Regions from separate parts of the Homo sapiens genome. Here region 2 is linked to region 1. The links are contacts of gene promoters, found by promoter capture Hi-C in human tissues and cell types (Jung and others, 2019). All regions are on one chromosome and are shown on one strand. The core of a region is centred on a gene start or on the middle of the fragment in contact, and the rest is flanking DNA. Distances in the headings are between cores, read along the strand shown. Region 1 overlaps ZNF8-DT (ZNF8 divergent transcript). Region 2 holds the start of TRIM28 (tripartite motif containing 28).

Region 1 (5,158 bases), core at 1,599-4,098:
CAGGTGAAACCCCGTCCCTACTAAAAATACAAAAAATTAGCTGGGCATGGTGGCGGGCACCTGTAGTCCCAGCTACTCGGGAGGCTGAGGCAGGAGAATGGCGTGAACTCAGGAGAAGGAGCTTGCAGTGAGCCGAGATCACGCCACTGCACTCCATCCTGAGCAACAGAGCGAGACTGCGTTTCAAAAAAAAAAAGAGGGTTACCAGTAAAAAATAAGACAGACTGGGCGTAGTGGCTCACGCCTATAATCCCAACACTTTGGGAGGCCGAGGCGGGCGGATCACCTGAGGTTGGGAGTTTGAGATCAGCCTGACCAACATGGAGAAACCCTGTTTCTACTAAAAATACAAAATTAGCCGGGCATGGTGGTGCATGCCTGTAATCCCAGCTACTCAGGAGTCTGAGGCAGGAGAATCGCTTGAACCTGGGAGGTGGAGATTGCAGTGAGCCGAGGTCTAGTGCCATTACACTCCAGCCTGGGCAACAAGAGTGAAACTCCGTCTCAGAAAAAATAAATAAAAATAAAAAATAAGATACTTTGATAAAATAGAACAATGAGAACCAGAACAGGCTCTTTGAAATTACAAGTAAGATTGTTCAATGTTATAGATACAATGTTTAGTGAGAAACAGAATGCTTGTTGCCTGGTGCTGCAAAGAAATAGCACTCAAAACATAAATTTAATTCTCTCAGCAAGGCCGTTTTTACTTTCTGCAGAAAGGGTGCTCATCACAGATGGAACAATGGCAAGAGCACACCTGAACAAAGGAGGGAAGCAATTTTTATTCCTTAGGCAGTTTGTCCCTGCTACTGTGTCCTGTCTCCGTTGGCTGGAGCCAGCCTGCACAATCTAAACTAAAACTAGATTAGCTAACAGTTTAAAACTTTTCTAAATAGGTAAAAGTAGTGGAAAGACGAAGGAAAAGAGGAAGTTGCTTATGCCAGATATGGAAGGAGCATAGGCTGTAAGCTGGAACGTGACCATGAGCATGTCCAGCACAAATAACTTGGTTAAGGTACAGGGACATAGAACGTACTACGTGCCTGTGAGCATGTTTACCAGCTACATAGGATAGGGCCTAACAAAGACTTACTAGCACAAAGCAAGGAGGTTTCAAGGAAGTTAGTTTATAAAAGAAACTATTATTTTTTAACACTTATGATTTATTCTTTAACAAGAAGGGAAACTTTGAAGAGGAACTTTTACTTTCCACATTGAACAAATAAGTAAGAAAAAGAAAGGGAAACTTCCCCAGGGCTGAAAGGAAATTTTCAGGTCATGCCATTATTATCAGAATTAATAAGACCCATGCATCGTGGAAAACTGAGAACACCACGACTAAAAACAGATGGCAGGCTGGGCGTGGTGGCTCACGCCTGTAATCCCAGCTCTTTGGGAGGCTGAGGCAGGCAGATCACCTGAAGTCAAGAGTTTGAGACCAGCCTGGCCGACATTGTGAAACCTCATCTCTAATAAAAATTCAAAAATTAGCCAGGCATGGTGGCAGCCGCCTATAATCCCAGCTATTCAGGAGGCTGAGGCAGGAGAATCGCTTGAACTCGAGAGGTAGAGGTTGCAGTGAGCTAAGATTGTGCCACTGCACTCCAGCCTTGGGCGACAAAGCGAGACTCTGTCTCAAAAAAAAACAAACAAAAAAAATGTCAGGGTCGGGCATGGTGGCTCACACCTGTAATCCCAGCTACTTGGGAGGCTGAGGTAGGAGAATTGCTTGAACCCAGGAGGTGGAGGTTGCAGTGAGCTAAGATTGTGCCACTGCACTCCAGCGTGGGCGACAAAGCGAGACTCTGTCTCAAAAAAAAAAAAAAAAAAAAAGATGGCAGGGCTGGCATGGTGGCTCACGCCTGTAATCCCAGCACTTTGGGAGACCGAGGCAGGTGGATCACTCTAGGTTAGGAGTTTGAGACCAGCCTGGCCAAGATGGTGAAACCCTGTCTCTACTAAAGATACAAAAATTAGCCAAGTGTGGTGATAAATGCCTGCAATCCCAGCTACTCAGGAGGCTGACGCAGGAGTATCACTTGAACCTGGGAGGCAGAGGTTGCAATGAGTCTAGATCATGCCACTGGACTCCAGCCTGGGCGACAGAATGAGACTCTGTCTCAAAACAGAGCAAATGGCATGGCAGAACCTTCTCTAGAGAAAATAGTTTTGAATCTAAGAAAGGAATAGCTTTAATCTAGAAAAGGAATAGGGCAAGAAAAGGAATGTTTATTCACCCATAACTTAAAAAAAAAGGTAATTTTAATTGAAGGCTTCAAGGTAAATTGTGCTCAAACTATACAAATTCTGCTAGATGGTTATAGTTCCTATGTGAAGGTAACTTTAGAAAGTAGTGTTCACTTGACACTGATGTGAGTAATTCTTGCTGGAGGGGGCAAAAAGCTCATGAAATTTGAATAAAGGAGGAGGAGATGCAGTCAGATTGTTGATTGACCCTTCAGGGAATGGCATTTGCATAGCTGTGACGTGAACCCTAGGTATTGGCTTTTTTTTTCTTTTTTTTTGAGAAGGAGTCTCTGTTGCCCAGTCTGGAGTGCAGTGGCGCGATCTTGGCTCACTGTAACCTCCGCCTCCCGGGTTCAAGCAATTCTCCTGCCTCAGCCTCCTGAGTAGCTGGGATTACAGGCACGTGCCACCACGCCCAGCTAATTTTTGTATTTTTAGTAGACACAGGGTTTCACCATGTTGGTCAGGATGGTCTCCAACTCCTCACCTTGTGATCCGCCCACCTTGGCATCCCAAAGTGCTGGGATTACAGGGATGAGCCATTGCACCCGGCCTGTATTGGCTTTTAATTTTTAGGAAGTAACACATGGCTGTGACCTGACAACTTCATAGTGGCCGTAGGGTAGGGCACTGTTGTCATTATTCCTGTCACTGACAATGTCAGCCCCACCTGCAGATGTGGGAGAGTAGATGGGGAAAGTAGTAGTGGAGAGTAGAGGTTTCCCTTACCATCCTTTTAGGAAGTAGGCTTTTAAACATGATATGTAAGTTTATTTAGAAGATGAAAATTAAAGCTTGAAATGTAATATGAGAGGAATTGGCAGCGGATGTGAGTCAGATCCTCACCTGTCAGAGCAGGAAGTTAGTGAAAACTAAAGATGATTGGCTGGATGCGGTGGCTTATGCCTGTAATCCCAGCACTTTGGGAGGCTGAGGTGGGTGGATCACCTGAGGTCAGGAGTTTGAGACCAGCCTGGCCAACATGGTGAAACTCTGTCTCTACTAAAAATACAAAGATTAGCCCAGCGTGGTGGTGGGCACCTGTAATCCCAGCTACTCAGGAGGCTGAGGCAGGAGAATCGTTTGAACCCAGGAAGTGGAGGTTGCAGTGAGCTGAGATTGCATCACTGTGCTCCAGCCTGGGCAACAGAGTCAGACTCCGTCTCCAGGAAAAAAAAAAAAAAAAAGACTAAAGATGATCAAAGATTAGAATTACGGAGGTGTCCTCAAGAAGAATTGGAACAGATATGGTTAAAAGTGGCTGGAGGTGGGTGCAGTGGATATGGTGGTGCACACCTGTAATCCCAGTGCTTTGGGAGGCTGAGGCAGGTGGATCACTTGAGCCTAAGAGTTGGAGACCAGCCTGGGCAACATGGCGAGACCTGGTCTCTACAAAAAATACAAAAATTAGCCGGGCATAGTAGCACATACCTGAAGTCCCAGCTACTCAGGAAGCTGAGTTGGGAGGATTCTTTGACCCCAGGAGGTTGAGGCTGCAGTTAGCTGTTATTATATCACTGCACTCCAGCCTATGTGACAGTGTGAGACCCTATCTCAAAAAAAAAGTGATGTCGGGAGGCTGAGAGGATGAGTGACTGGGGCAGGAGATGAGTACTTTCCCTTTTAAGCCCATAGCATTTAATTCCCTGGTGGTTCACTTCTTATTTGGATAACTAACAAATTATTTCAAATGTGTGCCTATAGGTGAGAGAAGCAATGGTACATGAGGAGGTAAGCATTTGATTTGTGGGATTATGAACAACTGTCCTACTCTCCTTTTGATTCGGTGTCTCTGTATTAGTGATCTGACAATTTAAAAAATCAAGCAAGAGCAGGCTGGGCGCAGTGGCTCATGCCTGTAATCCCAGCACTTTGGGAGGCCGAGGCGGGCGGATCACTTGAGGTCAGGAGTTGAAGACCAGCCTGGCCGACATGGTGAAACCCTGTCCCCACTAAAAATGCAAAAATTATCTGGGCGTGGTGGTGGGTGCCTGTAATGCCAGCTACTTGGGAGGCTGAGCAGGAGAATCGCTGGAACCCGGGAGTTGGAGATTGCAATGAGCCGAGATTGCCCCACTACACTCTAGCCTGGGCAACAGAGTGAGACTCCTTGACAGGAAAAAAAAAAAAAAAAAGCATAAAGAAAAGATGTCAGACTTGTCTGTTTGGCCAGTTTGAGTTTATTTCAGCAGGCAGGGCAGGAAGGTTCCTTGGCTTCCTAGAATCCCCTGGAGTTGGATGGGTGTGGTGGCTTACACCTGTAATCCTAACAGACCAAGGCCCAGGTGGAAGGATCAACTGAGGCCGTGAGTTTGAGATTAGACTGGGCAACATGGCAGGACTCTGTCTCTGCAAGAAATAAAAAACCAGGTGTGGTGGCACGCGCCTGTTGTTCCAGCTACTCAGGAGGCTGAGGTGTGAGATCACTTGAGCCTGAGAAGTTGAGGCTGCAGTGAGCTGAGATTGCACCACTGCATTCCAGCCTGGGCAACAGAGTGAGACCCTGTTTCTTTAAAAATAAAAATAAAAATAATCCCTTGGATTTAAAGGGAGTGGGTTAGTCCTTGAAGATTTGATTTTCCAGAATTCTTATCAAGAAGAAGTTGAGGCGGGAGAATCATGAGGTCAGGAGTTCAAGACCAGCCTGGCCAACATGGTGAAACCCCGTCTCTACTAAAAGACGTGGTGGTGCGTGCCTGTAAATCCAGCTACTCAGGAGGCTGAGGCAGGAGAATTGCTTGAACCGGGACCTGGGAGGCGGAGGTTGCAGTGAGCTGAGATCGTGCCACTGCACTCCAGCCTGGGCTACAGAGCGAGTCTCCTTCTCAAAAAAAAAAAGAAAAGAAAAGAAAAAAAGGCCGGGCGCGGTGGCTCATGCCTGTAATCCCAGCACTTTGGGAGGCCGAGT
Region 2 (5,158 bases), core at 792-3,291, 270 kb after region 1:
GCAGGATTCTCCCCACACAGACCCTGCTTCCCTCCTCAGACAGGATTCTCCCCACACAGACCCTGCTTCCCTCCTCAGACAGGATTCTCCCCACACAGACCCTGCTTCCCTCCTCAGACAGGATTCTCACCCCACACACCCTGCTTCCCTCCTCAGACAGGATTCTCCCCACACACACCCTGCTTCCCTCCTCAGACAGGATTCTCCCCACACAGACCCTGCTTCCCTCCTCAGACAGGGATTCCCCTCCCCACACAGACCCTCTTTCCCTCAGACAGGATTTTCCCCCCACACACCCTGCTTCCCTCCTCAGACAGGATTCTCCCCACATACACCCTGCTTCCCTCCTCAGACAGGATTCTCCCCACACACACCCTGCTTCCCTCCTCAGACAGGATTCTCCCCACACAGACCCTGCTTCCCTCCTCAGACAGGGCTCCCCTCCCCACACAGACCCTCTTTCCCTCAGACAGGATTTTCCCCACACACACCCTACTTTCCTCCTCAGACAGGATTCTCCCCACACAGACCCTGCTTCCCTCAGACAGGATTCTCCCCACTCAGACCCTGCTTCCCTCCTCAGGCAGGATTCTCCCCACACAGAACCTGCTTCCCTCCTCAGACAGGATTCTCCCCACACACACCCTGCTTCCCTCCTCAGACAGGATTCTCCCCACACACACCCTGCTTCCCTCCTCAGACAGGATTCTCCCCACACAGACGCTGCTTCCCTCCTCAGACAGGATTCTCCCCACACAGACCCTGCTTCCCTCCTCAGACAGGGTTCCCCTCCGCACACACACCCTCTTTCCCTCAGACAGGATTTTCCCCACACAAACCCTACTTTCCACCTCAGACAGGATTCTCCCCACATGGACCTGCTTCCTTCCCTCCTTGGGATTCCCCACTGTTGAGGTTCAGTTTCCCCATCTGGAAAAGCATCAAAGTCAGGGTAGCTGCTGACGAAAACATGGGGAGGGGATGCCTTGGGGGGCTGGGTGGGATTTCACAGACTCATTGCTCTTTAGCCTCTTGTGATTTATATATATGTGTATATATATATATATATTTTTTTTCTTGATGGGGGGTTGGGGGGCCCGGCGTGGTGGCTCACACCTGTAATTCCAGCACTTTGGGAGGCCAAAGTGGGTCTATCATCTGACGTCGGGAGTTCGAGACCAGCCTGGCCAACGTGGTGAAACCCCGTCTCTATTAAAAATACAAAAATTAGCCAGGCGTGATGGCAGGCCCCTGTAATCCCAGCTACTCGGGAGGCTGAGGCAGAAGAATCGCTTGAACCCGGGAGGCGGAGGTTGCAGCGAGCCGAGATCGTGCCACTGCACTCCAGCCTGGGCAACAGAGCAAAACTCCGTCTCAAAACAAACACAAAAACCTTTCTCTCCTCTTTTGAGATGGAGTTTCACTCTTTTCTCCCAGGCTGTAGTGCAATGGCACGATCTCGGCTCACTGCAACCTCCGCCTCCCGGGTTCAAGCGATTCTCCTGCCTCAGCCTCCCGAGTAGCTGGGATTACAGGCGCCTGCCACCACGCCCGGCTACTTTTTGTACTTTTAGTAGAGACGGGGTTTCACCACGTTGGCCAGGCTGCTCTCGAACTCCTGACTTAAGATCCAACCGCCTCGACCTCCCAAAGTGCTGGAATTACAGGCGTGAGCCGCCGCGCCCGGCCACATTTTTCTCCATCTGTGGTCTAGGCTGGCGTGCAGTGGCACAATCCCGCCTCACTGCTGCCTCGGCCTCCTGGGCTAAACGGAGCTTCCCGACTCGCCTAAGAAAGTGGTGGGATTACAGGTATGAGCCACGGCGCCCGGCTGTGATCTACATTTGATTCAGTCAAGTTTCTGTGTTTCTCAAGTTTAACTATAGCGTGGTTAAAATCCAAAAGTCAGCACCCGAGCTCACACAGGAGCTTCCTCCCTCTTGGGATGGAGACTCTCCTCCCCTCTCCCTGGACACAGCCCTTCACTCGGTCTTGGCCCCGCCTACTTCTCCATCGGCCCTGCCCCCTATCCCGAACTCTTAGTGACGCAGAGGCTGGAGACGACTCTACGGCGGCGAAGAGACGCGGGTTGAGGAAGAGGGACGGATTGCCCATGCGCTTGGGCGCACAGCGGCCCGCTTCTGTGTGGTCTGGAGGTGGAGCTGAGAGGGGAATCACACTCTATAAAGGTTCGCATACCCCACTGGCGGATTCAATTGCGGCAGTGACGTCACAGAGGCCCCGCCCCGCCCCCACAAGAGCCCCACCGACGTGGGGTTGGCGGTGGTGGAAGGACTAGGAGTTGGCGCGTGCGTACTGGCGGCCTCTCCCGCACCGACCGGCCTGGGCCCCGCCCCCGGGCGTGAGGCGCCCAATGCGCGTGCGCGGCGGCGTCGGCGCCAGTTATTTCTGTCCCGCCCCCCGGCCTCGGCTCTTTCTGCGAGCGGGCGCGCGGGCGAGCGGTTGTGCTTGTGCTTGTGGCGCGTGGTGCGGGTTTCGGCGGCGGCTGAGGAAGAAGCGCGGGCGGCGCCTTCGGGAGGCGAGCAGGCAGCAGTTGGCCGTGCCGTAGCAGCGTCCCGCGCGCGGCGGGCAGCGGCCCAGGAGGCGCGTGGCGGCGCTCGGCCTCGCGGCGGCGGCGGCGGCAGCGGCCCAGCAGTTGGCGGCGAGCGCGTCTGCGCCTGCGCGGCGGGCCCCGCGCCCCTCCTCCCCCCCTGGGCGCCCCCGGCGGCGTGTGAATGGCGGCCTCCGCGGCGGCAGCCTCGGCAGCAGCGGCCTCGGCCGCCTCTGGCAGCCCGGGCCCGGGCGAGGGCTCCGCTGGCGGCGAAAAGCGCTCCACCGCCCCTTCGGCCGCAGCCTCGGCCTCTGCCTCAGCCGCGGCGTCGTCGCCCGCGGGGGGCGGCGCCGAGGCGCTGGAGCTGCTGGAGCACTGCGGCGTGTGCAGAGAGCGCCTGCGACCCGAGAGGGAGCCCCGCCTGCTGCCCTGTTTGCACTCGGCCTGTAGTGCCTGCTTAGGGCCCGCGGCCCCCGCCGCCGCCAACAGCTCGGGGGACGGCGGGGCGGCGGGCGACGGCACCGGTAAGTACGAAGTGATCGGTGCCACCCCTCCCCCTACTCTCTGCCTTTGATTCCGACTGGGTGCAGAGATGAGGATGCCACCTGGGCGAGAGGATGGGGGCCCGGACAGGGCACGGGAAATACTTTCTGGGTCCTGCATACGAACGTGGGTTTGTGCTGGCCGCTGAGATGGGACATCTGACTAAAGTTGGAGAAAAGAAGGCTCGGGGAGGGGAGGGGCTGGTTCGCTGCGGGATAATGGTCGGGGGCCCACCCAGCAGGGGAATGGTGGGGGCCATAACCTGGGTGGGAACTTGTAACAGTCTCCCACATCCCTGCTTCTCGAAGTGGTGGACTGTCCCGTGTGCAAGCAACAGTGCTTCTCCAAAGACATCGTGGAGAATTATTTCATGCGTGATAGTGGCAGCAAGGCTGCCACCGACGCCCAGGATGCGAACCAGGTGCGTCCTATCTCAGCAACCACAAGGAGGTTTCTGGGGAGGGGGCATCTGCGCAGGAGGAGCTTGGCACCAGCTCCAGGCTGTTACTCCACTTTCCCAAGGCTCTGGGTGGGCTGCCTAGGTTGGGTCAAGGGACCAATCTTAAATCTCCGGTTGTATTTTCTGGGATGTAAACGTGGATCTATCAAGTTGTCTTGCCTTCTCTGACCCTGCCTTTGTCTGGCAGTGCTGCACTAGCTGTGAGGATAATGCCCCAGCCACCAGCTACTGTGTGGAGTGCTCGGAGCCTCTGTGTGAGACCTGTGTAGAGGCGCACCAGCGGGTGAAGTACACCAAGGACCATACTGTGCGCTCTACTGGTACATGAGGCTGAGGGGGGCTGTTGGAGTTGTTCTCCCATGTGTGCCCTCAGTTGCTTTTATGATGTTGGTTGCATCTGGTGGATGGGTCCTAGAGTTCTCTAGGGGGTGCCGCCCGAAGGGCCCGAGGGCAGAACTCCAGAAGCAGAAAAACTGGGGTTGTGGTGTGTAGTCTCTAGGGCCTAGGTGGGAGAGGGTGGGAAGGGGAAATAAGGGAGACCTTAATGTGCTGCAGGGAGGTACAAAGGGTTTGAGAAGGCTTATCAGGGAGTTGTCAGACCTGGTGGTGAAGGGCTCAGCATATGCAAACAGGGAAAGGCATGGTGTGAAGGGCTTTCTGGGTTTGTGGTTCCCTGGCACACATCTGGTATAAGATGCTGCTAGGGAAAGTAGACTGTGGGTCCATGGATTATAAGTGATGATGATTTTTGGAAGTGTTTTAGCTTTTGAGTTGGCAGAGACTTACCCAAAGTTTGGTTTGGCATTTCCAGCTTTTCACAGACACAGCTAGCTTTGGTTTGGAAGGAGCTTGAGAGTCTTTTGAGTCTAGCCAAGTTTTGGGGCCAGAATCCTCCCATGAGTGGCCTTTTGGTAGCCATACTGTGATTCTTCCCATCCCAGAGGACAGCATTGGTGGAAGATAGCGGGAAGGTGGTGGCTGTGGGGCCTGAGCAGCCAGGAGGGATACGCAGGGGCTGCAGGGTGTCCTACATTCCAGACGTCCCAGGCAAAGGTCAGGGTGCAGGAATGAGTGGCATTGGGGAAGTCAGTTTCCCCAATGAGCCCTGATGCTACATATTTTGGATTTGGTTGGTATGTGGGACCAGTGTGTTTGATCAGTTTTCTAATGGGGAGACAGGCTTTGGAGGTTATTAATGGGTTGGTCTTTGGGTGGGATTATGCTGAGCACCAAGATTCTGCTCTAGAGGGGGTGTGACCACCATTCTGAGGGTCCTGGTTTGACATTTCATCTCTCCCAGTATGAGAACCTCTACAAGGTTTCCTCTGGGCCCTTGGATTGTAAGAGACCCTGGTGTTCTCTTGTCAGGGAAGAGGGAGGAAGTTAACCATGAAAGGAGAAGAAAAGGAATCCAGGGTGGTGTGTAGGCAGAATTCTGAGTATGTCCACTTGGAGAAGTGTTCAGTAAAGGGAACAGTGTGGGGAAGGGTCAGCGGGGGTGGGGGGTGGGGTGGGGTGGTCCTCTTTTTCTAGACGCTGTTATCCTTACCCTTACATTGTTGTTATCTCTAGAAGCTAGAAGAAAGGGATGTGTTTCTCAGCTA

Evidence for each region. The method cuts DNA at HindIII sites, captures the fragments that hold promoters and counts their contacts. A contact is called where the count stands out against the background at its distance.
Region 2: a contact is called between the fragment with the promoter of TRIM28 here and a fragment that was not itself captured in region 1, in 1 of the 25 tissues and cell types used here (liver).

The regions. Positions count from the first base shown.
Region 1 is chr19:58,267,796-58,272,953 of GRCh38, forward strand. All of the region lies in intron 1 of ZNF8-DT (ZNF8 divergent transcript), which reads right to left. It also overlaps a transcript of ZNF544 not described here. Among named protein-coding and RNA genes, the nearest start is that of ZNF8-DT, 8.4 kb to the right of the region's middle. The HindIII fragment of the contact is 7,344 bases long and covers 1-5,158 here.
Region 2 is chr19:58,542,023-58,547,180 of GRCh38, forward strand. TRIM28 (tripartite motif containing 28) reads left to right here and starts at 2,042. Exons shown (of 17, transcript NM_005762.3): 1 at 2,042-3,075; 2 at 3,403-3,515; 3 at 3,742-3,874. The coding sequence starts at 2,736. It also overlaps the pseudogene RN7SL525P. RefSeq lists enhancers at 1,217-1,721, 1,873-2,182 and silencers at 2,303-2,512, 2,593-2,752, 2,773-3,062. The HindIII fragment of the contact is 31,195 bases long and covers 1-5,158 here.